Regions from separate parts of the Homo sapiens genome. Here all the other regions are linked to region 2. The links are contacts of gene promoters, found by promoter capture Hi-C in blood cells and fetal thymus (Javierre and others, 2016). All regions are on one chromosome and are shown on one strand. The core of a region is centred on a gene start or on the middle of the fragment in contact, and the rest is flanking DNA. Distances in the headings are between cores, read along the strand shown.

Evidence for each region. The method cuts DNA at HindIII sites, captures the fragments that hold promoters and counts their contacts. A CHiCAGO score of 5 or more calls a contact.
Region 1: a contact is called between a fragment that was not itself captured here and the fragment with the promoter of FABP5 in region 2, in 2 of 17 cell types (M2 macrophages and M0 macrophages). The highest score is 10.4, in M2 macrophages.
Region 3: a fragment that was not itself captured here is called in contact with the fragment with the promoter of FABP5 in region 2 in 8 of 17 cell types (M2 macrophages, M1 macrophages, M0 macrophages and 5 more); the score reaches 10.0 in M2 macrophages.
Region 4: a fragment that was not itself captured here is called in contact with the fragment with the promoter of FABP5 in region 2 in 2 of 17 cell types (M1 macrophages and M2 macrophages); the score reaches 6.2 in M1 macrophages.
Region 5: a fragment that was not itself captured here is called in contact with the fragment with the promoter of FABP5 in region 2 in 5 of 17 cell types (M0 macrophages, M1 macrophages, M2 macrophages and 2 more); the score reaches 15.0 in M0 macrophages.
Region 6: a fragment that was not itself captured here is called in contact with the fragment with the promoter of FABP5 in region 2 in 3 of 17 cell types (M0 macrophages, M2 macrophages and M1 macrophages); the score reaches 8.8 in M0 macrophages.
Region 7: a contact is called between a fragment that was not itself captured here and the fragment with the promoter of FABP5 in region 2, in 1 of 17 cell types (neutrophils). The highest score is 6.2, in neutrophils.

Annotation. Positions count from the first base shown.
Region 1 is chr8:81,613,913-81,617,741 of GRCh38, reverse strand. It overlaps the pseudogene IMPA1P1 and the pseudogene NIPA2P4. Among named protein-coding and RNA genes, the nearest start is that of IMPA1, 70 kb to the left of the region's middle. The HindIII fragment of the contact is 3,474 bases long and covers 528-3,829 here.
Region 2 is chr8:81,278,320-81,281,948 of GRCh38, reverse strand. It overlaps FABP5 (fatty acid binding protein 5), which reads right to left and starts at 1,413. Exons shown (of 4, transcript NM_001444.3): 1 at 1,275-1,413. The coding sequence starts at 1,353. LNMICC (lncRNA associated with lymph node metastasis in cervical cancer) reads left to right here and starts at 525. Exons shown (of 2, transcript NR_186603.1): 1 at 525-616; 2 at 1,573-3,629. RefSeq lists enhancers at 101-935, 936-1,770 and silencers at 1,365-1,654, 1,665-1,744. The HindIII fragment of the contact is 5,532 bases long and covers 1-3,629 here.
Region 3 is chr8:81,629,538-81,633,403 of GRCh38, reverse strand. It overlaps the pseudogene IMPA1P1. Among named protein-coding and RNA genes, the nearest start is that of IMPA1, 55 kb to the left of the region's middle. RefSeq lists a silencer at 2,356-2,650. The HindIII fragment of the contact is 2,102 bases long and covers 576-2,677 here.
Region 4 is chr8:81,658,488-81,662,108 of GRCh38, reverse strand. It overlaps IMPA1 (inositol monophosphatase 1), which reads left to right. Exons shown (of 9, transcript NM_005536.4): 8 at 1,442-1,593; 9 at 2,643-3,621. The coding sequence ends at 2,758. Among named protein-coding and RNA genes, the nearest start is that of IMPA1, 26 kb to the left of the region's middle. The HindIII fragment of the contact is 627 bases long and covers 1,115-1,741 here.
Region 5 is chr8:81,580,971-81,584,651 of GRCh38, reverse strand. It overlaps a transcript of FABP12 not described here. Among named protein-coding and RNA genes, the nearest start is that of FABP12, 49 kb to the right of the region's middle. The HindIII fragment of the contact is 5,486 bases long and covers 1-3,681 here.
Region 6 is chr8:81,597,411-81,601,267 of GRCh38, reverse strand. No RefSeq gene overlaps it. Among named protein-coding and RNA genes, the nearest start is that of FABP12, 65 kb to the right of the region's middle. RefSeq lists an enhancer at 569-1,344. The HindIII fragment of the contact is 430 bases long and covers 1,794-2,223 here.
Region 7 is chr8:80,923,131-80,926,740 of GRCh38, reverse strand. No RefSeq gene overlaps it. Among named protein-coding and RNA genes, the nearest start is that of ZNF704, 50 kb to the right of the region's middle. RefSeq lists a cis regulatory region at 278-291 and an enhancer at 212-356. The HindIII fragment of the contact is 1,865 bases long and covers 892-2,756 here.

The sequences.
Region 1 (3,829 bases), core at 1,015-3,514, 330 kb before region 2:
TCCTGGTGGGTCCCCACCAGGGACAACGATCTTGTGTATGTAGCAATTTGCACATTTGTGTATGTAACAAATTGGCACATTTTCAGTCTCCTGGGTTAAGAGCCTAGGCAGTGCTATCAGAGAGCTGTTTGCTGGAAAGCCTGCACTGCCACATCCCCTGGCCTGTGTTCTGCTGCTAAGCCTCATTGTCTGTGTGAACACATAGATTAATTACCTAAATTGCGCCCTGGATATATTTAACACTTCCATCATGACTCCAATACATTACATATTCTTTACGACATCAGTTTTTAAACTTGTTCAGCTATTATTTTTAAGGAGTGGCAAGATATGCCCATTGATGATGTCACTGGTACTTTTGACTGGCTTTACAATAATCGTGGGGATATTCTTGTTGCATGCTTTTAAGAGTGTCAGCTTTAGTCTAGCAAGTCTGCCTGTGTCTCTTCGAAAAGACAAAAAAGCAATGAATGGCAATCTCTCTAATATGTAAGAAGTTCTTAATAATAATGAAGAAAGCAAAAGCTTAATCTGTGGAATCAAACTACACACTGGTGAAAATATCTCCTGAAGAAATGGAATTCTGACAGCTTTTTAAGAAAGATATAATTAAAAGGTTAATCTGTAATTCTGTTATAAAGTGAATGTGAATATCAGAATATGTCTGAAAAAGCACTGTTCTCAAATAATGATCTTTAAAGACAATCCTTTTAAAGGTTTCACTAATTTGAACTAAGAAATCACTTTTCTGGTTTTTTTGTTTTTTTTTTTTTGGAGACGGAGTCTCACTCTGTCACCCAGGCTGGAGTGCAGTGGAATGATCTGGGCTCATGGCAACTTCTGCCTCCCAAGTTCAAGCGATTCTCCTGCTCAGCCTCCTGAGTAGCTGGGACTACAGGCACGCCGGCTAATTTTTTGTATTTTTAGTAGAGATGGGGTTTCACCATGTTAGCCAGGATGGTCTCAATCCCCTGACCTTGTGATCCACCCTCCTTGGCCTCCCAAAATGTTGGGTTCACAGGCATGAGCCACCGTGCCCGGCTCTACTTTTCTGAAATTTAAACAATGGTAGCTCACCAAAATGAACTCAGTGCATGACTAATTTCTATTAACATTGTATTACTGTAGAGATTTTTTTACATTTTGAATCCTTATCCAAAATCTAACACTGCTTAAAATGACAGTTTTAAGTGTATAAAAATGCTTTATTTTTTCATTGGTGATGAAAGTCTGAAATGTACATTTATTTGTCATCCCCACTTCATTAATCCCTAATCATATAGGCTTTTTGATTTTAATAAAGAACAAAATTATCCCAAAATTATCCTGTGATTTACCTTACCTATTATAACAAAATATAATACATATATTTTATAGAAAAGTTAAAATATAATATATATTATATTTATATAAAAATTATAATTATATAAATATAATATATATAAAATAGGTAAGGTAAATCAGAGGATAATCTATATAAAATAGGTAAAGTAAATCATAGGATAATAGAAATATGTATGAACCAAAGAAATGTGGTAGCTTTCATAGAAACAACTCTTTTCCTTTGCATAATTATTCTTCACTTTACAAAGTATTAAATTATTTAACTATTAAAAGTAGTACAGCAAAAAGAATAAAATGCCTAGGAATACAGCCGTCAAGGGAAGTGAAGGACCTCCTCAAGGAGAACTACAAACCACTGCTCAAGGAAATCAGAGAGGACACAAACAAATGGAAAAACATTCCATACTCATGGATAGGAAGAATCAATATCATTAAAATGGCCATACTGATCAAAGTAATTTATAGATTCAATGCTATTCCCATTAAACTACCATTAACATTCTTCACAGATTTAGAAGAAGCTATTTTAAAATTCACATGGAACCAAAAAAGAACTCATATAGCCAAGAAAATCCTAAGCAAAAATAACAAAGCTAGAGGCATCATGCTACCAGACTTCAAACTACAAGGCACAATAACTGAAACAGTATGGTACTGGTACAAAAAGAGACACATAGACCAATGGAACAGAATAGAGAACTCAGAAATAACACTGCACATCTACAATCATCAATCTTCAACAAATCTGTCAAAAACAAGCAATGGGGAAAGGATTCCCTATTTAATAAAAGCTGCTGGGAGAACTGGCTAGCCATATGCAGAAAATTGAAACTGGACCCTTACACCTTATACAAAAATTAACTCCAGATGGGTTAAACCAAAAACTATGAAAAACCTAGAAGAAAGTCTAGGCAATACTATTCAGGACATAGGCACGGGCAAAGATTTCATGACGAAATCGCCAAAAGCAATTGCAACAAAAGCAAAAATTGACAAATGGAATCTAATTAAGCTAAAGAGCTGCTGCACAGCAAAAGAAACTATCATCAAAGAGAACAGGCAACCTACAGAGTGGGAGAAACTTTTTGCAATCTATCCATCTGACAAAGTTCTAATATTCAGCATCTACAAGGAGCTTAAACAAATTTACAAGAAAAACACAACCCCGTGAAAAAGTGGGCAAAGGACATGAACAGACACTTCTCAAGAGAAGACATTCATGAGGCCAAAAAACGTGAAAGCAATCTCAACATCACTAATCATTAAACAAATGTAAATCAAAACGACAATGAGATACCATCTCACACCAGTCAGAATGGCAATTACTGAAAAGTCAAATAACAGATGCTGGCAAGGTTGTGGAGAAATAGGAACACTTTTACATTGTTGGTGGGAATGTAAATTAGTTCAACCATTGTAGAAGACAGTGTGGCAATTCCTCAAAGATCTAGAACCAGAAATACTATTTGACCTAGCAATCCCATTACTGGGTATAGACCCAAAGGAATATAAATTATTCAGTTACAAAGATACATGCACACATATGTTCATTGCAACACTATTCACAATAGTAAAGACATGGAATCAACCCAAATGCCTATCAAAGATAGAATGGATAAAGAAAATATGGTACATATATACTATGGAATACTATGCAGCCATAAAAAGGAATGAGATCATGTCCTTTGCAGGGACATGGATGCAGTTGGAAGCCATTACCCTCAGCAAACTAACGCAGGAACAGAAAACCAAACATTTCATGTTCTCACTTGTACATGGGAGCTGAACAATGAGAACACACAGACACAGGGAGGGGAACAATACACACAGGGACCTGTCGGTCGGGGGTGAGTTGGGGGACAGGAGAGCATCAGGAAAAGTAGCTAATGCATGCTGGGCTTAATACCTAGGTGATAGGTTGATAGGTGCAGCAAACCACTATGGCACACATTTACCTATGTAACAAACCTTCACATCCTGCACATGTACTCTGGAACTTAAAATTAATTTTAAAAAGCAGTACAACAGTTACAAAAATGCTGACAAACACACCTGGTGAACATATATCTTGTCTGATGGGAAGAGGTGAAGTGTGGGGTGTCAAGTGTGTCCTGAGCTGCAGTCAGGATGTTTCAGAGGAAAATGGAAAGCCTTGGATAATTTGCCAGCTTTGTAAATGGAAGTGAGAGAAGAGCTACCATGTAATTTTCATTTTTGTTTTCTTTCAAATCTATATATAAGTTCGCTATTGAATTTAGTTTCTAACATCTACCTTTTTGTGTTTAAGATATTTGCTCATTTTTCACTACACGTATCATGCCTGCAGGCAAATTGGTTATATTCTGTACATTTGGGGAATGGTCTAAGGAGCTGGACTCTTTTTGATGCTTATAAAAAGCTGACTTGGAAATAATAAGTTTATCAGTTTTAATATTTTAAAACTTAGAAATGAATTTGATAAAACTAGGAAGAGGGATAAACATGT
Region 2 (3,629 bases), core at 164-2,663:
GTAGTTATTTCACCAGCGAGCAACCGGGTTAACATTTGTGGATACCGGCTTCTGAAGCACCCTCATAAATCCCAGCCATCCCTTAGGGCTGGAAGCTCCCTTCCAGAGAGGATCCATGCTATGCTAACTCCATCTCACTTCCTAGTGGCCTGTGACAAAGGTCCATTTTTGTTTGCAATTTATCCAGTGTCTCAATCAGCATGCAATCTGTCACTGGCATAGAAAAGGACAGTAATTTATAATGAAGCACTGTTTTGAGTGAGAAATGAATCTTACTACTGAGATTCATTCTCCCTCGGAACGCTTCAAGAAGTCATCTGCCTTCTGCAGGGCCACACCCATCTTGCATGCAGTTAGCCGCAGGAGGGCCAGGCAGTTTCTGTTACGGTTTTCCAGCAAAGCCCACTGCCTCCTTCCTCCTCACCCTCAAGTGGCAGAGGCCAGGATGGCAACACACGGCCACCCCCAGGCCTCATTGCGCTCCTCCCACAGGCCACCCGCCCACTGCGGCGCCCCGGCCCGGCAGTGCCAGCAGCAGGTCGGCACCGCCAGCGCCACGCTTCTCGGGGGCCCTGGTGTTCCATGGGGTACCAATCCAAAGGGTTCGGCTCAACTGGTAAGGGCGAGCAGAGGACCTGGGGGAGACGGGGCTGACAGAGGAATGCAAGCTGAAGCTGTAGCGCCACTCAGACCCCTCCACAGGATTTCTGCGGGAAACTGCGCGCCAGCACCGCGTCCCCATGAAGAAAACGGAGGGTGACCTGCGCGCCACAGGGAACAAAAGATGCGACAGGGAGGGAAAGGGGAGTGGGTGCTGCCACGATGGGGTAAATGGGAGAGACAGAATGGTGGCAGGAAGGGGAAGGATGAGTAAAGGGGGAAAAAAGGGAAATACAGGGTCGCCTGGAGGGGGTCGAAAGAAGTGCAGCGTGAGGTGACGGGTGCGCGCGCTAAAGGACAGGAAGCAATGCGGAAGGGCTGCCGTTTGGGCGAAGGGAAAGAAGCAGAGGTAGGTGGACCACGGGGTGGACCACCTCCGGAATCTTGCGGCCCGCGGGCGGGCAAGAGGCGCGCACGCTCCCTGCTCCTCGCCGCCTGCCCGCGTGGTGCTGCGCGCGCTGCACCCAACGGCCGCGTGGTGGGGAAGATGGGAGGGGATGGGGGTAGGCCGCCGAGCATCTCCTGCCCCAGAATCTGGCACGCTGACGGGGACCTAGGGACAGACGACCGCACAACACGCCACGTTGCAGGCGCTGCCAGGCCGGGTGCCTCACCTAGCTCCTTCATGTATTCATCAAAGCCTTTGCTGTCCACCAGGCGCCATCTTCCTTCCAGCTGCTGAACTGTGGCCATGGTGGGTGCGGGCGGGCTGGCGTGCAGAGAGGGGTCTGCGTCGGCGTGGCAGCGTGCTGTGAGGCACCCGGCGCCGGCGGCTGCTTTATAACGGCGGCCCGCGCTGGGCGGCGCTATGCGGCCAATGGGAGGCGGGCCTCGCCCGGTCCCCGCCCCGCCCGCCGGGCGCCCCCTGGGCCTTCTCGGGGTCGGGAGGTGCTAACCAGCTCCTCTTGCCAGGGTACGCGACGGCCTCTCGGGCGCCTCCTGCAAGCAGGGACTCGCCCGGCGCGCCCCACGCCTCATGGACGCCGGCGCCTGCACGTTTCGGCGCCTCTGCAGGCCCAGGAAGCCAGAGGGGTCACCTGGAGGCCTGGCCCCGCCTCTCCTGCACCCCTCCGTTTGACAACATATCCACCGCCGTTTTTCCTTTCAAAATACCCGGACCAATCGATTAGCCCTCGCCGGACTCGGACTGCAGGAAGTGATTGATCGGCTGTTTGGTTTATTGATTCATTAACTACGGTGCCTCCCTGACCTTCTGCTCCTCGCCAGCGCACAAGCTCACAATCCACACCCTCCTAAGAGAACCTGCTCTCGCCATCCGCAGGTCTCCCTGGCCCAATAGTGGGGATATACCTGAGTTGAGCTAGAGGATTTTATCCCTGTTGGGATGGGGGACGTCTCGGGAAGTGTGGTTTCTAAACTAAAAGACTGCAGGAAGTGTCAACTTTAGTGACTGTCATTGCCATTCAAGAATGTTTGATTAGTTTATATTCCCTTCGTAGTGCACCCTTCACCGTTTCTTCTCAGACACCAGCGGGTTTCTTCTCAGACACCAGCGGGTTCCCTCTTTCTCTTGAACTATAATAATACCCTACACATGTGCGTAGAACATGATACGTTTCAAAGTGTACTCTTCACAATTTATTACTTGGTGCTCCCGGGTGCCTGTTGGAAGTCAGATGGACTGAGGTGAGGAAGTTGCCACACAGGCTGGCCGTTTCGATAGCGGTAATGTGCATTTATTGAGTAGCTACTAAGTGCTAGATGTGCTTCCTGGGCACTTTATAGACATTGGTCTCCACTATATTTTTGCTAGGGGTGTTATCCCAATTTTTCAAAAGAGAAAATAGGGCAAAGATAGTTCTCACAGTGGTAGAACCAGAATCCCCATCCAGGTCCGTCTCACTGAAGACCTTATGAAATCAGACCACACCTGACTGCCTTGGGCTCAGGGTAGCTGTGATGGAGCTCTGAGTAGACCACAGTCACCGAGACACTACTAGTTCTTGTATCATCCTTGACAAAATTGAAATCTGAGGTTGGTTTGCTATCTCCCAACATGCTGCAGGACATGTACTCCCCTGAACTGCATCCCTTTCATTTCAAGTCCCTGCCCTCAGTTTAGGGTCACACCAGTCTTCCTTGTGGTACCATTTAACACTCAATTGTTTTCCCAATAAGGGTCTGCATGTCCCACACCCGAGGCCCTACTGCTCAGAAAATATTCGTGTTCTGAGGGAAGCTGAGTGCATCATTTACTCAGTGATGAGAAGCCCTGGCTACCAGGCACTTCAGGCAGCTCCTTAGGGCTGCCTGTGTGTTTGAACTTGAGCTCTTCATGTGCTATTTCAACATGTCTTATCCATTTCTGTATAGACTATATGTAGTAATAATAGGACGCAGCACTCTGATACTAATTTTTAAATGATCATAATCTAACATGTTACAGAAATATCAAAAAGATAATGGCACTGGAGTACTAGATACTTAGGTACTTAAGAAATAGCCTTTAATCCCAAGGCCTTACTTAAAACTTAAGTTTAAACACAATCTCTGATGTGATGAGTGGAAATAATTCTTTTGTGTTAAAACATACAGACAAAACAAAGCTATATGGCCAGAATAATAACCGTTATTGTATCTTGTGGAACAAAAAAGGGCATGGTGATTGCTCTGTTCCTCAGGGAAACACATTGAATGTCTTGTTTTCAGACACCACATCTGATGCATATACAGATGTATGATTGGAGTAGATTATTTCTAATGCCCCTTAAGCTCTACTACTCAGATTCTTTCCTTCTCCAGAGTAATGGTAATGGATTTTAAGCTGTGAAAAAGCAGTTAAGTACTGCCTTCACCCGCTAAGTAAAGGCCTATTCTAGGCTACTTACCTTGCACCCATTATGAGGTGTAAAACCAAAAATGTTGTGAAATCAAATTTCACTGAAGTCTCATATAACTTTATGGAGATGGTTGAGTATTTCTTCTTGGAAAGAAGGAGGAGAATCATC
Region 3 (3,866 bases), core at 377-2,876, 350 kb before region 2:
TTAGATACTGCCCCTTTGGGAACTCAGAGGTAGTGCATCCTGTACTGAGGTCTCTGCAACTTTCTGAACTACTTTCACAATATTGGACCAAAGATCCTTTGGATTTGTGAGACCAGTTTGCAGCTTTACCACAATCAAATCTGAACACTAAGACTTCCCTGTGTACCGACAGATTTTGCATTTCACTTTCAGTAGGCATTTGGAAGCAGAACGGCCTCTTTGGACTGAAAAAATCTAGGTTACCTGACAACAATTGTGAGGCAGATGCTAAGGTCTCTAGAAAAATACTAGGCTTCTTGCTCACCTGACACAGGTAATTTGAAATGTTATCATTTGAAGGAATAAGATAGGTGATATTGAATCTCTCTTGCTTCAAATTGATTATACTGATTTTAGCAGCTTTGCCAAATCACTGGGACCACATTCATTTAAAAAGGTTAAAAGATGATGGATGACATTTCTGCAAAAGCCTGGAAATTTTTATTTAGTTATGAATTAACACTTGTCATCATGCAGTTGGCAAGATTTTTAAGATGATTGACAATGAAGAATGAAATAGCTAGTTTCTGAAAGCTTGTCTTTAAAACAAAACAAAAAATCATTTAATAGGCAAATAGAGATATCCAAACCAGATACCTAGGCATCATTCTTTAGACAATTAAAGACAAGTTTCTTGCTCTTTGTGGGGTGTGGGAATTGGGTCCACAGTTCATATCATTAATCTCTGGGAAGTGTTTCATTGGCAACATGATTGTGACAACATCTTGTCCTTAGATTAAATGAAGAGAAACAATCACTTCCTAAGCAAGGAGCCAAATAGCTCACTTTTCTGTTCCTGCTGTGGCTGGGACATCTTATATCTGTGCAACAGTTTTTGCATGATGATGATGTATGTACCACGATGCTGCCCCTTCAAGAAGAGGAAACATTTTAAGGACCATAAACTAGTCCTTGTACCTCGTATAATGCAACCTCCTTGTGCCGTACATTCTCTGCGTGAGGACTTTTGTAGGACCAAAAGGAAAATTTCCCTTTGTTCTCTGAATGCTTGCTGAAAATCAACTGACAAAAGACAGATTAATAGGAGAGAAGGGTACAAATTTATTTGATCATAGTTTTAAGTGACATGGGAGCCTTCAGAATGAAGACCCAAGATACAGGGGAACAGTCCATTTTTATGTTTAGGTTCAAACAAAGTATAACCAGCTGTGTAGAAATAGGATTGGACCAAAAGTGTATAGTGTAATGCAAATAGACTGAGTGGGGAAACCCAGCAAAGCCTGTCTGTTTAGATTTTATTTGGCCTCTCTGTGGTGCATTCCTTCCTTCTGTGCATTGGGCAAGACCCTCTGTGGAATGGGGGTCTTGAGACCTACAGTCAGAAAAAGTGGGTTGGATAATTTCTTTATGGTCTGTTTTTACGCGAAAAATTGGGGAGATTAGAATAATATTTTTGGGTTTCTAGGACCTGCCTTGGGGAAGAAGAATTCCAGTTTCTAAGGCAAGCCTTGAGGGAGAATGTGGGGCCAGAGACAGGAAGGCAAGAGGCTTCAAATAACTTTTTTTCTGTGAGGCTGCTTCTGAGGACTTCATTTTGGGGTGTCGTTTTCTGAGCCCCAACACTTTGGAGTCAGTGTGTTTCACTGCTCTGCTCTTGCTGTGTGACCTGTGACCTGTGTGAGGACAAATCATTTACCTTCTCTGAGCCTCAGTTTCTTCATCTGTGTGATGAAGCTAATTATACGTACCTCAGGCAACGTTTAACAAAAATAATGCATATAAAAACACAATTGCTGAAAGCATAGTAAGTCCTCGATAGGTGGTATCTAAATATATCACTGAGAAAAAGGGCAGTTAGTTCTGGCTACTGACTATTAAAAAAAATTAATATAAGTTTACCAGGTAATGCTTTGGCAAATAAAAGCTGCTCAACCGAAGTCATATCTCCAATTTGTGTTTTGTCAAAATGGTACTACGGAAAAATGAGAGAAAGGGTAAAGAAAGAGAAATGGGAAAAGGCGAGTGAATGGAAGAATAAAGAAGAAAAGAGAAAAATAAAGAGGAATTGAATTTTAAAAAGATTTAGAGAAGAAGGGGCAAGCAGGAGAAAAGAAGTTAGAAGAACCAGAACTGGGAAAGAAGAGGCCAGATCTGAGGCTCCTGCGCCGGTGAAGACCCGGGCCGGGCCTAGCAGAGCCTCTCAGGGCGCAGCTCGGGGCGGGGCCCAGCAAAGCAACCACGCCCCCTCATTGATGGGCTTAAGAAGCGGCGACCTTTTGGTCCCGGGCAGCCCCTCTGCCTCCCAAAGCACTGAGGCTGGATAGCACCAGGCACCCAGCTAGCAGGACAACTCGAGGTGAGGCCCCTGTTTTCCCCGCCCCGCTCGCCGACTCGAGGTGAGGCTCCTGTTTTCCCCGCCCCCCTCGCCACCCTCTCCGGGTTCGGCGCTTCTCTCTGCTGGGGTGGGGGCGAGGGCGGTCTGCGGTGTGCGGTCAGCCCCTGGGGCGAAGGCCGCATCTGGGTGACTCTTGCCTGCCACGTTATCTGGAGCTGCCCTGGGGTGACCAGGAACACTCCCGATGTTGGAGTAGCGGTTCGCGGACGCCACTGCACTTAACCCCTGTGGCAGCTTCTGTGGAATCATTGCCGCTTTTCATTTTCCCTACTCCGAAAAGCTTAGAGAAACTTGGCGCATCCCAGGCTCAGTTAGTCACCGTAAGTGATGGGGCAGCGCCCGGATGACTGGCAGCGCCAGTCGCGCTGCTAGGGACAGGTGGCCGACAGATGGCAGAGAGATCACTTACAGGTAGTCACCGTAAGAGATGGCGCAGCGCCAGTCGCACTGCTGGGGACAGGTAGCCGAGAGGAAGATGGCCTGGCTCCCACGCTGGGAAGGGTGTGACCAGGACAGAAACAGCAGGAAACAGTTCAGGTGTTTATGGATTTGGGAAAATGAAAGTGAGTAAATACGGCCCCTTTCCATTAAGAAATGTACTTGTGATATGATACATATGTGTATATCAGAATAAATGTATTACATATATATGTTTTCATCCACCATTACTGGCTCATAACTCCCATAAGCCCTTGTTACAGTCTTTTGTTATAATGTCGGGGCACTGCAGCCCCCAGAAAAATGGAATTTCTCTCTTTGACCTTCTGTCCTCCTTTCATCTGCTGCTTTTTCTCCCCAAGGTAAGGATCTTCCCCTACCTTTGTGTCTTGTAGCTGGTTATAAATAAATTCTCTGGCCTATCTTTGTCTGATTGTAGTTCATAAGACTCCCATTTCGGAAGAGGCCCCGCTCCATACCCAGGAGGAAGGAATGCTGCAAAGGGGAACCAAGAAGAATCTGAACAGACAGACCTCACTGGGTTTCCCTGGTCTATTACTATTAGATCATACAGATTTTGTGGGATGATATTCCTACACAATTATCTATCAATCATGCCTATCCGATGAAGTCCAGACTCAGGCCCTCAGTTGCTATCTACTCAAGTAACTTACATGTTTATATCTGCAGGCCAAACCTCTCTTCTGAGCTCAGGATCTATCTATTCAGCTGAATAATTGACAGCTTCTTTTGATTTCAGGGAGGCCTCATATCTCTGCTAATTGAACTCTTAATTTTCCAACCTCTTACCCACATCCCAAACTTGACTCTTTTTTTTGTTACTCCCCATTCAGTAGATGTGACCGTTATGGATTCGGTTGCCAGACTGGAAAATCTGGTCATCCTTGAACTCTTCCTCTCCCTCATACTCCATAGCCAATCTGTTACTGAGTCTCCCCAATTTTATTTCCCAAAACAGATTATCTCTTGACTCCCTTAGCTTCTCCACCAGAAAACTTCCCTCCCCAGGTTT
Region 4 (3,621 bases), core at 179-2,678, 380 kb before region 2:
CATATGATGGAAAACATGCCAAATCAATGACATCATGTTATTCTAATCCTTTTTAAAATTTATTTGGCATAAAGGATGTACTTAGGTGCAATTTTTTTATTTTTATTTTTGAGATATAAAACAAATGCCACATTAGTCATCAGTTTTCCATGTTTTTAAATAAATAAACTGTGAAAGATCTCATTGAACAGAACTCACTCCCTTATTACCATCGCTTTAAACAGTTGGAGAAGGAATTTGTGTAAAAACCACTTGAAAGTAACTTGTAGACATGATGACGTTTGTCTTCTAAATACACATTTCAGCGTGTGTGTCTTTAATAAAAGGGACATTGTCTAACATAGCCACAGTACAATGATAAAAGTAAGGGAATTAACATGGATACATAATCTAATATAAGACTTTATTCAAATTTTGAAAATTTTAATCCAACATCCAGTCTAGAGTCATGTATTGCATTTAGTTGTCATTTCTCATCAATTTCCTTTAATTTAGAACTTGCTTAGTCTTTGTCTTTTATCACCTTGACATTTTTCAGAAGTATAGGCCAATTATTTTGTAGTCTGTCTCTTGAATTTGAATTTGTCTGGTTTCCTCATGATTATATTTGGATCATGGATTTTTGGCAGGAATGCCGCAAAAGTAATGTTCTGTCCTTCTCAGTGCATTTTATCAGGCACATTTCTTTTTGTCCCATTATGAGTGATATTAACTTGGATAACTTGGTAATGGTAGACCATTGTAAAGATGCTATTTTTCCATTGTACTTATTATGTATCTTGTGGAGAGACACTTTGACACTCTGTAAATTATCAGACTCACCCATTAATTTTAACATTGATTCTTTACTGAATAAATTATTACTATAATTGCTATCAAGTGTATTTATATTCAACTTAACTTGTATTCAAGGAAGAGGTGCTATGAGAGGGCAAACCTGCAGTAATTTTCCAAGGCAGGCTTAGGTCTTTGCAGAGCCTGGCATGCTGTTGTTGCTTTAGGCACATGTATGACGCACACCCAGTTGAAAATGACCCATACCATGATATTTTACACCTCCTAGAGACTATTTGCATTGTGGGTATGTGTATATGTGTGTAAAATAATATAAGCTTTAGTAGCTGGATTTAGACAAATATTAATATACTTGCATTTCATTATTGTAGAATTAAGCATTGTCTTTATTTTTTATGAAAAATTATTGTTTTAATGTTTATCTTATTAAATTATTGCTTTGTGAGGGTTTTGTGATTTATATAATATACGATGATAATTAGATTTATACATATTTTTATTTTACAATTAGATATCACCTCTTAAAATCTTTATCCTCTAGATCGTTCCAAGTTTCTTCAATCGACACTTAAAGTGAAGTTAAGGAGGAATATCTTACTTGAAAGGATTATTTTTTCCAATTTTATTTCTAAATTCTATTTGTTAGGATCCGGAGTGTTGGAACAGCAGCTGTTAATATGTGCCTTGTGGCAACTGGCGGAGCAGATGCATATTATGAAATGGGAATTCACTGCTGGGATGTTGCAGGAGCTGGCATTATTGTTACTGAAGCTGGTGGCGTGCTAATGGATGTTACAGGTAAAATTATGGAGAGTGAAGCAGATCTCCACACATCTGTTGGACTTTTGTCCATATGTAGAATTTAAAAAACTTTTTGATATATGTTATACTGCAGTTTTTGAAGCAGAAACAAGCTATATAATTGTGTGCAAAATCAAAATAAGCTTTAGGAGATAGAGGTAAGGATAAGAGGTAATGGTAATGTGAGACTTACAATGATAAATGGCTAATCCTTTTCTAGTGTGAGTTTCAGGTACTCCTGAAAGGCTGTAGAAAAAGCCTAGACCAAGTTTGTCCAACCTGCAGTCCATGGGCCACATGTGGCTCAGGATGGCTTTGAATGTGGCCCAACACAACTTTGTAAACTTTCTTAAAACATAATGAGTTTTTTGCGATTAAAAAAATTTTTTTTAGCTCATCAGCCGTCATTAGTGCTAGTGTATTTTATGTGTGGCCCAAGACAATTCTTATTCTTCCAGTGTGGCCCAGGGAAGCCAAAATATTCGACACCCTTGGCCTAGACAGTCACCGAGTCTGAGGCTTATACCCAGAGCTCTTTGAATGGTGACAATGGTGATAGTTGATGATGGACTTCCTCCACCATCACTTTCTGTGTTGAGACTAGAGAAGTTAAATAATTGCTTTCAACTGATGGTGAAAATTTTAAACCGAAGGGTGAATCTGTGCTGAAAGAATTCACCAGTGATCTGGGAGAAAGGCAACAAAGAAATAAGGAAATGGGAAGGACAGTGGTATGAAAATGCATTGGATTCACATTTTCTGTCCATAGATTCTTAAACAATAAAGAGGTAATAAGAATGCACAAAAATAGAGAAAATATGACATTTTCTAACTGGTATGACTTCATTATTTACTCAAAAATTATGCTTAGAAACAGTTATATATTGTCTAAGCTTATACATTGTAGAAATGTAACAGTAGATTTTTGTTTAAGAAAACTGAAAGTATTAAAATGTTATGTGACCATAGTACATATTGCTATACTTGTTTTATATGAATTATTTTTGTACCAGATAAAATTATTTTTCATACTTGTTTGCTTTTAGGTGGACCATTTGATTTGATGTCACGAAGAGTAATTGCTGCAAATAATAGAATATTAGCAGAAAGGATAGCTAAAGAAATTCAGGTTATACCTTTGCAACGAGACGACGAAGATTAATTAAGGCAGCCTCATAGTCAATCCCAGTTGCTTTTCCCCAGATTTGGTGACTCATCAATGGATATGTGTTTTGGATGTATGATATGCTTGGTTTAAATTCTCTTTGTCCAGGTCAAAAATTTGGAACTTGTTTCTTATTTTACTATGTCTAGGTTTGCAAGAATTGACATAATGTTTGTTTCACTGATTTAAAAAATTTTGCATGTAAGAATGTACTTTAGGAAACATACCCAGGAAGTACAGTTGATAAATATAACATCAACTGAAATAGTCAATTAGCAATTTTGTGTTTCTAAATATCTATGGTCCCCTGAAATTTTGACTTAGTATATAGGTGCAGAGACACCCACTTAGAAAGTTAACTGTTTGGAAAAACATTTCTCTTTAGTTTCAAAAACCATATATAATTAAATTTGTAAGGATATACTGAGTACCCTAGGCCAACTTTTTTTTCTTTGCAGAGAACCTTTTTTGTTTTATTCTTCAGTGTTCATATAGCACCTGGCCCATTACATATCTAGGCAACTAAAAACAAACATTGTAAGAATGAATATTTTTAATGTAGTAATTCCTAGTTACAATAGATACATAAAGTAATGAACTCAGCATTCTGTACTTTTGCTTCAGGTTTGAAGTAAAAATTATCTAGTTAAATTTTTTTTATTTCACGTTACCATGCCATTTCACATTACCATACCATCAGATAGCATGGCTTATTGTGGGCATTTCTGCAGTGAATACATTTTCCAAAACAGTTAAATTGTCTGTTTGGATTTGCTTTAAAGTCTTGTGTAAGAGAGAAGAAACTATTTCTATAATAAAAAGCACTCTCATCAGATATCTGACATAATTAGATACAATAT
Region 5 (3,681 bases), core at 1,073-3,572, 300 kb before region 2:
CCAAAAGAAAGGAAATCAATATATCAAAGAGATATCTGCAGCAGCTTGGCTCACAGGGGATTGGGTCAGGGTGGGAAGCCACACACCTTGTGTTCCTAATCTAGGGCAATGCAGCTGTGTGAATTCCTAGTAGCTCTTCAAACTGGTCTCAGAAATTGTGAGGACTGTGGGATTTGCCTGTTGTAAAAACTGTAGGTATCTGCTGTGGCAATGGAGGCTGGTAAGAATCTTTTGCTTACTTACCTTTTACCTATAATGGGAAGTCTCTTCTGAGTCCAGGCCAATCTGATCTGAGTGGGGAAGATGGAGCTGCAGAGGCCGGTGCCTCCATGCTTCTCTCCTGGACTTGCAATCACCACAGGTGCATCTCCACTCACCTCCTGCAGTCTAACACCACGCCTTTGACACTCTAGTCAAATCTTAGCTGTTTATTCATTGACTTGGTCCTTTCTTGTTGGGGGAAGAATTCTAGGCTTCTTTACTCACCCAACTTGCTGGTGTCACTCTCCAGGATGTTGAATTTTATCAAATGCTTTTTCTTTGTCCATTGAGATGATTATATGTTTTTTGTCCTTCAGCCTATTGATAGGATGTATCACATTGACTGATTTGTGTAGTTGAACAATCTTTGCATCCCTGGAATAAATCCACTTGATTATGGTGTATTACTTTTTTGATGGGGTTTTGGACACAGTTTGATAATATTTTGTGGAGGATTTTTGCATCTACATTCATCAGTGATATTAGCCTGTAGGTTTTTTATTTTTGTTGTGTCCTGTCTGCTTTTGGTGTCAGGGTAATGCTGGCCTTATATAATGAGTCAGGGAGCATTCCCTCCTCTTCAATTTTGGAAGAGTTTGAAGAAAACTAGTGTTAGTTTTTCTTTAAATATTTGTTAGAATTCAGCTGTGCAGCTATCGATTCCTGGCTGTTTCTTTGTTGGGAGACTTTTTATTATTACCTTGATCTTATTACTTGTTATTGGTCTGTTCAAGTTTTCTATTTCTTCCTGACTCAATCGTGGTAGGTTGTATGTGTCCGGGAATTTATTCATTTCCCCCAGTCTTTCCAGTTTTTTAGTGTGTAGTCATTCATAATAATCTATGATGCTCTTTTGTATTTCTGTGATATCGGTTATAATGTCTCCTTTTTCATTTTTGATTATGTTTATTTGGGCATTCTTTCTTTTTTTCTTGATTGGTCTAACAAATATTTTATTAATTTTGTTTATCTTTTTAAATGAACAAACTTTTTGTTTTGTTGATTCTTTGTCTCTATTTTGTTCAGTTCTGCTCTGATCTTTGTTATTTCTTTCCTTCTGTGAATTTTGAGTTTTGTTTCTTCTTGCTTTTCTAGTTGCTTGAGGTGCATTGTTAGATTGTTTATTTGAAATATTTCTACTTTTTTGATATAGGTGCTTATTGCTATTATAAACTTCCCTCTTGTCACTGCTTTTGTTGTATCTCATAGGTTTTGACATGTTGTGTGCTGATTTTCATTTGATTCAAGAGGCTCTTGATTCTTCATTAACTTCTTCCTTGACCCAGTGGTCTTTCAAGAGTCTGTTGTTTAATTTTCATATATGTGTATAGTTTCAATGTTTCTCTTTTTATGCATTTCTAGTTTTATTCCATTGTGGTCTGAGAAGGTACTTAATATAATTTTGATTTTTTAAAATTTGCTGAGACTTGTTTTGTGTCCTAACATGTGGTCTATCCTGGAGAATCTCCCATGTACTGAGAAGAATATGTATTCTGTAATTGCTGAATGAAATGTTCTGTCAATGTCTGTTAGGTTAATTTGATCTAATGTTCAGTTTAAATCCAATATTTCTTTGTTAAGTTTCTTTCTAGATAATCTGTTTAATGCTGAGAATGGGGTATCAAAGTCCCCAACTATTACTGTATTACAGTCTCTCTCTCCCTTTAAATCTAGTAATATTTGTTATATATATCTGGATCCTCAGTGCATGGTGCATTTATGTTTAGAATTGTCATAACCTCTTGCTGAAATGATATCTTTATCATTATATCATGACCTTCTTTGTCTCTTTTTACTATTTTTGACTTAAAGTCTATTTTATTTGATATAATTATAGCTACTTCTGCTTGCTTGTGGTTTGTTTCAATGGAATATCTTTTTCAATCTGTTTACTTTTAGTCTACATGTGTCTTTACATGTGAGGTGAGTTTCCTGTAGGTAGCTTATAGTTGGGTCACTAAAAAATCCAGGGCTGGGTGCAGTGGCTCACGCCTATAATCCCAGAACTTTGGAAGGCCAACGCGGGAGGATCACAAGGTCAGGAGTTTGAGACCAGCCTGGCCAACATAGTGAAACCTTGTCTCTACTAAAAATACAAAAATTAGCCAGGCGTGATGGAGTACGCCTGTAGTCTCAGCTACTGGGGAGGCTGAGGCAAAATAATCACTTGAACCCGGGAGGCAGAGGTTGCAGTGAGCCGAGATTATGCCACTGTACTCCAGCCTGGGTGACAGAGCGAGACTCCATCTCAAAAAAAAAAAAAAAAAAAAAATTCCAGTTAGCCAATGTATTTCTTTTAAGTGGAAATTTAACCTATTAACATTCAAAGTTATTACTGATACATTGATGCTTATTTCATTTTATTAATTGATTTATGGTTGTTTTGTTTATTTTTTGTTTTTTTCTTTCTCTCCTTGTTTCAGTGTCATTTGGTGGTTTTCTGTATTGGTAATATTTGAGCTTTTCCTCTTCCTTGTTTGTGTGTTTGCTCTACCAGTTGTTTTCATGTTTTTGTGTGTTTTCATGATGGTAGATACTGCTGTTTCACTTCCAGGTGTAGGACCCCATGAGCATTTCTTGTAGAGTCAGTCTAATTGTGATTAATTCTCTCAGTTTTTGCTTGTTTAGAAAAGACTTTATTTCTCCTTCATTTATGAAAAATAACTTTGCTGGGTATGGAATCTGTGGCTAACTCTTTTTCTTTCAGCATTTTGAATATATTATCTCATTCTTTCCAATCTTGTAAAGTTTCTATTCAGAAATCCACTGTTAATCTGATGGGGGTTCTTTTATAAGTGACTAGATGCTTTTCTCTTGCTGCTTTTAGAATTCTCTCTGTCTTTGACATTCAAAAAATTGACTATAATATGCCATGGAGAAGACCTTTTTGGCACTGTATCTGTTTAGGGATGTAGAAATGTTACATTCCCTTATTTGTTCAAAATGAAGTTAAATCTGGTTCTGAGCTTTATCCCCCCAGGATGCTAAGAAATTCAATCTTAGTCATGGGTAGGGAATTCCTTCCCCTTCCTGAGGGTCAAACCAGACTTTTGGAGCAGAAGAGTGTTTCCACAGGTAAAAATATTAGGAAAGAGACACTTATGATCACAATCAAAGTCCTCCCTTTTCAAGCCTTGTGATTGGGTAGCATTGGCCCCTATGGGTTCAACAAAGGCATAAGAGCCTTTAAGAGTGGGCTCTGCCTTCATTCCAGCTTTCATTGTATCCTTGTTGGCACTCTGATTAGAGTTTAGCATTTCTACCCAGCAACAGACTCTTCTCAATCTTTTCCCCGTCCTGTTGATTTTCTCTTGCCCTTGTCTTGGAGACTTGCTCCAGGCCATGCTTTTAGGCCATGCAGTCAAAAGCAAAGTCCTACTATTTCTCCCCTGAGAGTAAGAGAACCTCTAGGATAAAGCA
Region 6 (3,857 bases), core at 759-3,258, 320 kb before region 2:
ATCTGACTTTACACATGATGAAAGGTGAGGTGTGAGGGCTGTAGATGTTCGAATACTCTTTCTAAATGCAAATCAGTGATCACCAGCTTAATGGCTCCTCAGTTTTGGGATGAAGTCTAAATTCCTTAATATGGATTATAAGGTCATCAGGCTTGATCCCCCGCTCCTCATCTCAGGGTTTTCACCTCCAGCTTCACGCACTGACATAAAGTTCAGACTGGATTTCTTTCAGCTGCAGCAGCATTCCTTCCTCTGCTGTGAACCTTCACAACAAGCTGAGATTTTTTTTTTCGTTTTTGAGGGGTAAGAGGTAATACAGTCCTCCCTTGGTGTCTTTGGGGGTTAGTCCCAGGACCTCTGGTTGATAGCAAAATTTGCAGATGCTCAAATGCCCAATATAAAATGGTGTAGTATTGTTATACCCAGACAAGTTAGAGAAAACGCCACACTTTGAGATGAATTAAGAGTCCGTTATTTAAGCCAGCGGCCAAAGAGATGGCTAACGCTCAAAATTCTCTCGGCCTTGAGGAAGGGGCTTGATTAACTTTTATACCTTGGTTTAGGAAGGGGAGGGGAACTCAAATGCAATAATTCTGCAGAAGTAAAAACATGCAAGAATCAAAGAAACAAATGGTTACAGAGAGATAAACAATTTAAAAGACAAATGGTTACAAAAAAACAGTGGAACCAGGTGTGGGGCTCTAAGTCCTTTATTAGAGTTAGATATAGATGCTATGCCGGACACAGTCTCAAGGCTTTATGTTGTTACCTCTTTGAGTAAAATCCTGGGAACTTCTTACATTGTTTGTTTCAGTACCTCATCAGTCAATTGGGCTCCTTTGAAATGCTGATCTGCTTACACAGGTTAACTCCTTGAGGAAGGGGGTTGGGTAAGGAGCCCTTAATGTCTTGTAAACATCAAGAAGCCAAATGGAGTTTGTCCGGCTTTCCCAGCCAAGAGAAAGTCTTACTCGTATGGGAAAAACAAGGCTGGGTAACTAAGGAGACAAGCAGGGAAAACTTAAAAGTAACGAGTTAGAGTAAAAACAAGGTTAGGCATTACCGTATTTGCATATAGTCTATAGGTATCCTCCTTTATACTTTAAGTCATCTCTAGATTATTTATAATACCCGTATTAGTCCATTCTCACACTGCTATGAAGAAATACCCAAGACTGGGTAATTTATAAAGGAAAGAGCTTTAATTGACTCACAGTTCTGCATTGCTAGGGAGGCCTCAGGAAACTTATAATCATGGCGGAAGGCAAAGGAGAAGCCGGCACCTTCTTCACAGGGTGGCAGGATGGAGCGAGTGCAAGCAGGGGAAATGCCAGATGCATATAAAACCATCAGATCTCATGAGAACTCACTATCACGAGAACAGCATAGGGGAAACTGCCCCCGTGATCCAATTACCTCCACCTGGTCCTACCCTTGACACGTGAGGATTATGGAGATTACAATTCAAGGTGAGATTTGGGTGGGTACACAGAGCTAAACCATATCAATACCTAATACTGAAACTGCGTTTGCAAAATTATGACTGAGATAGTGATAAAGATCCATCCAACTTAAATGACTCCATCTTGCCTCTAACCTCCAAGCTGTCCTTGTTCATTCCTGGGTATAGGCGGAACTTACTTTGGGAGGAAATTAGTTTATAGTTTAAAACAAAGACGATAACAGCCCTTTCCCCAAACAAACCTCCTTCTCGCCTGGGGACTAGACTACTAACATTAGCCACGAGATTAGAAATTATGGTTTAGGAGTCATGTGGCTGGAGGCTACAAGCTTCTGACCCTCCCTAAACTGCTCTTAAGATCAATGCTTGAGATGTTTTGCAGACCCTTCACTTGATGAACAGCCAGCACCACCCAGATTGAGAAACTGCCCCATCTGATCTTGTGACCCCCCACCCAGGAACTGACTCAGTGCAAGAAGACAGTGATGCCCCATCAACACCCCCCGGCTCAATGCCCCTCCCCTCCCACCAAATTGTCTTTAACAACTCTGATCCCCAAATGCTCCAGGGACTGATTTGAGTAATAATAAAACTCCAGTCTCCCCTACAGCTGGCTCTACGTGAATTACTCTTTCTCTATCGCAATTCCCCAGTCTTGATAAATCAGCTGTATGTAGGCAGCAGGCAAGGTGAACCCCTTGGATGGTTACATTACAATATAAATGCTATGTAAATAGCTGTCATACTGTATTTTAAAAGCTTGTATCATTCTTTTTTGTTGTATTTTTGTTGTTGTCGTTGGTTGTTTTTCTCAAATATTTTCCATCTGCATTTGGTTTAATCTGCAGATGCACAGCCTGCAGATACAGAGGTCAGACCATACCCTCTTCCACCTTCTATTTTGAACCCCATCCCAACTCACACTGAACCCACCCACACATGTCTAACTTCCACTTGTATATTACCTACATATTTGGTCTTACCTTCCCTGTGACTTCCTTCAAGAAGCCTTTCCTGACAACCCAAGGGTGGGTTTATTTCCTCTCCTGAGTCTTCTGCATTTCTTCATTCAGACCACTTACCACACTATGTTATAATTGCATTTTGCCTGTAAGGACATGACTATAAACACTGTGGAGGCAGTGTTTTGCTCATTCTTGTACTCTAATTATCTGGCACAGTGCTTGGCAAATACCAAGTTCTTATAAATACTTGTTGAATAAATGAATGAAATCTTAATATCTAATAGCATCTCTCTTATGCTATTTTATACTCAGGTTTGAGGGCCATAATTTTATGCGCACCTGCAAATAATAGATAGTCTAAAAGTAGTCCAGATTTTCTCCTTTTCACATAAAGGACCAGCTCATATAATACTTGATTTGTTAAAAAACAAAACAAAGCAAAACAAAACCCCATGAAGCACCCCAAAATCTTGCAGTCATTTCAGATCAAACTGACAGATATGAGATGTGAAAAATATAATAAAACAAATATTTTCTGCTATAAAACTGAAATGAAGGAAATTTAAATGATTATGTAAAATGCATCTATATTGACAACTTTATCATACTGAGAAATTTGGATGATTTTAGCCCACTAAAAACAAACTTCACTAAAGTGGGCTAAAGACTGTTTTAGCCCACTAAAACAGTCTTCACGAAGAGCAATCCCCATAGTGGGGATTTACTCAGTCCCTTCCATTCAGGCTCTCTCTGCCTCCTCCCTCCATCACAACTAAAGCCCTGAAGGAGAATAAACTTTAAAGACAAGATTAATTAGATTACACTCCTTCAAAACCACATTATAGTTTGTAGATCAGCCTCGGTGCTGACCTGAAGCTTGTATGCTTTGCTGGGATAGTTACTAAGGGGTTCTTACCTTTTTGCTTGGTATAAAGTTGACACTGAGTAGTTATAAAGTCCTTTTTAGTTCCTATCCTGGGTCAAGCCAATTTGGCAAAAATCAAGTTCCTGGGAAACACTATTATATAGTTTGCCCTCATTTCCACTTTCACCAAATCTCAATATAATTACTTTTACAAAGCTCTGTGAAAGCCTATTTGAATGTTATTGTAAGCAGCAGCCAGTGACCTCTGAAACTCATTTTGCATCACTGTAAGAATGTTCATTGTATCTCACAAGGTTCTCTTTGTTACTCCCTAGAAGAAAGTTCACTATGATTTTAAGATTTTAATATAAAAAAAAACTGTTCTTTTCCCGAGTCCTTATGTGTTCATCTCCAAGGTCAATGGGAACTTGCTTAAATTATACATTCTAGGAGCCTACCACAGAGCTACAGAATTTGAAATTATGGTTATCATTTTATAAGCTCTTCAGGTGACTCAGATGCACACAAAACTTTGGGAATCTCTCTTATAGACCAGAATTATGTA
Region 7 (3,610 bases), core at 575-3,074, 360 kb after region 2:
AGCCTGGTCAGAAATAAGCCTCCTCTGGAAGGAGACAAGATGCAGACGTGCGATGACAGACTCAACTGGGCATGTTCAAATCTCTCACCAGAAAAACAGCCTCTGTCTGTCAAGTTCCTTGAACTTTTGAGTTACTGGCTGGGGTGCCAAGCAAAGGGCTCAGCCAAATCCTGAGCAGAACTCCTTTCCTCTCCAAAGAGCCAGTAAGGAATCAACGATGAAGAACTTGCCAATTTTCTGTCACTTGGAGAGTTTCCAAGCTTAGGATCCTGTTCAGAGGACCAAAGTCCAAGAGGCTTGAGTAAAAAGAGCAAACAGAACTCTCTTAACTCTTACAAAATATCACTAAAATATGTCGGAAATGCCGTGAGGAAATTACATACTTTTAATTTGTCAGGTCAGCAAAAGCGGGTGGTTAGTAGAGAAACAATCTTGTGAGCTGGCAATTTGTTTTTCCCTCCCTCCTTATGTGTATTTGTGTGGGGTAAGTCATTTTAAATAATTTCCTCTGACTTGGAAGTTTGGAAACATAATGGAATTCAAAACACAGTGGTTTTTTTTTTTTTTTTTTCTTGGTGGTTGTTGTTCCTCAGAAGTCAGTGAGGGAGGAGAGAGTGGGAGGTGGAGAGATTTAATGTCCCAAACTGATTTAAAAACTGACGTTTAAGAAAATTTCCCTCCCACATAAATAGGATTTTTCATGGTATAGGGCTGTTTGTGGTTCTCTCTCAATGCTCCAGATTTTAAAGCGGTACTCTTTAAGTAACCTCTCTGACCATGTAAATAATGAGACAACAGCAAGAAATCATCTTTGAAAAAGTGATGATTTTACCAGAACAGAGGCTCAAATAATCTCATTGTAATATTTTGAAAGATTGAAAGAAATAAGCTTTATTTACTTTCTTAGACTGAAAAAAAAATCAATTTTTGAAAACAAGAAAAAATAACTGAATGCTTAATAACCAGAGAGCCCTTTGTAACTTTGGTCATGGTGAATAGATTAAATGAACTCTCACCTCATTTGTAAGCAGAACTTAAACTTCTTCTCTCACCTGTTGGGGGGAAGGAGAAAGTGGCTGGTGAAATGAATGCCCCTGGAGTTAGTTTTCCTAAATCAATGGTCCTTGAGATCTTTCCTTAACTTTCAAGCTGCCCTGGACATTCTCTGCTTCCACAGCTGTGATAAGTTACAACTCATTTGTGTGCGTGCGTGCGTGCGTGCGTGTGTGTGTAGAAAGAGGAACTTCTATGAAAGAAACAGTTTGTTTCTGTTGTTTCAAAAAACAGAGTTTTGTTGGTTTGGAGAGATAAGCTCCATCTAATACAAATACAGAGAAAGATGGCGCTGCTGCTAAAACAAACCCTTTAAGCATCTCAGGGTAAATCACAGAAAGCACATTTCCAATGTCCCACTGGAGAGTTTTGCTTCTTAGAGCTATGGCTTCTCATCCGTGTTTCTTTGAATCAATGGTCTTTGCATCATTTGGATCGCTTTCTCAGAACAAAGGGACAAGTTATACCAGGGGGCAGTCAAGTCTCTACTTTTATTTATGAGACCCAAATACATGCTGATCTCCTGTGGTCTCATCTCTATGTTTAAAGAGTACCAGTCCAGCTGCCAAATAGGAATTAAAGAGGATTCGAATCTATACTTCCCTCTCCCTCACGGGTTCTAATCAAGAGCCCTCAAAGCCTCTACCTCCTTCTCTGCCAATTCTCCCCCAACCCATAAGTCTCCGGCAATCCCCAAGAGCCTCTAACTTGTAAAATCCAAAATTCCCTCTTCCAATACAGCCCACATGGCTTCTCTCTGCTTAGTCCCCTGGCCTACCTTCTCTCCCCTTTTTGCGATATAGATCACCATTGCCACTCTAAGCCATTAGCCCCATTCACTCACTTCCTTTCCACCAACCTTTCCATTTCTCTGGCCTACCCTCTTCCATTCTCCCAATTCTGCCTAATAAACTGCCCAGGAACCCAACTGGCAAGGACTCTCATTTAGTAGTTGGAGACCGAGTTGCAGAAGAAAATGTATGGATGAGGCAAGGGCTTGGAATAGAGGAAGCTGGACGCCTTCACCTGTAAACAATTCCACCCACCACACCTGCAAGACAGAAATACAGCTTGTAAACACAGCTGATAACTATTTTCCCCCAGCTTCTAGAGCACCTATCAGGGTTTCTTTAGCCCTAGCCTGCTGCAAATCTGCATCTTATTTCCCTTTTCTAAGGGAGCATTTGCTAGAAAGGAGCTTCTAAGCACCAAGCCTAGGCAAGGAGCAAGGAAGTAGATAGCTGTGAGCTGCAAGGGTCTGTAGCAGCTCATATCTTATTCCCTGTCTCTTCTCCCTTCTATGTTTTGACTCCAAGAATTACAGCTTTTTCCTGTGTGCAATCCATAGACGTCATATCTAGCCTATCATGGCCAGAATATTGGCAGGTGAAGGAGGGTTGAGGGTGACATGAAAATGAGGAGTGTCCCACAGAGCCATTGTGGGTTGCACTACTAGCTATCGGCCCATTATTCTTTCTCTCTGGAAAGTGCTTATCGAGACTACTCTAGAATCAGAGCTGCCGCCAGACAAGGTGGGACTGAATATTACAGCCTCCTCTCCTGAAATCTGTTGTATTGCCCAACAAAAATGTCCATCCACCCTGACTACTCTTTTTAATTGCACCCAGGAATGTTAAAAAAAAAAAAAAAAAAAAAAAAAGAGGAAGGCTCTTGGTGTGAACTCTCTCTCTCAAACTGAAGCTTGGATTACTTCATAAGTTAAAGCTTGAAAAGTCATGCATGCTGTACTAAATTCATTGAATTTCTTCTTACCACAGAACATCAACCTACCATTGACTTCAGGCTGGTTTTGTGTACACTAGTCCATTGCTTAGAATTTTATAAAAAGGTTGCTGTATCTCCCTCTAACTTACTATACACATGTATACACGTTTTCCTTCCACACCACCTCTTCGATGTCCACTACACAATTCCTGCACTCATCCCTCATGTTCTTACCACCCAGGCCTCAGCTTACTTCTTTCCCAGTCCGTCCCTTCAATCCTGACTTTTCTGATCCTCTATCTTCTCCTAGCCTTTATCCCTGCCATTGACCATCATTGACAACAATGATTTGGTGCTTACTATGTAATTTAAGACTTTACCCTATGAGGTATGTGTTACCGTGATCCCTTTTTTTAAATTGTGGCAAAATACACATAACATAAAACTTACTATGTTAACCATTTTTAAAGTGCACGATTCAGTGGCACTTAGTGCATTCACAATATTGCGCAGCTGGGTGTGGTGATTCACGCCCATAATCCCAGCACTTTGGGGAGCTGAGAAGGGAGGATCACTTGAGCCCAGGAGTTTGAGATCAGCCTGGGCAACATAGGGAGACCTCCATCTCTACAAAAAATAAAAAATTAGCTGGGCATGATGGCATGTGCCTGTGGTCCCAACTACTAGGGAGGCTGAGATGAGAGGATGGCTTGCGCCTGGAGGTCAAGGCTGCATGCAGTAAGCTGTAATCATGCCACTACTCCAGACTGGGCAACAGAGCAAGATCCTGTCTTGAAAAACAAAAACACACACACACTTACAATATTGTGCA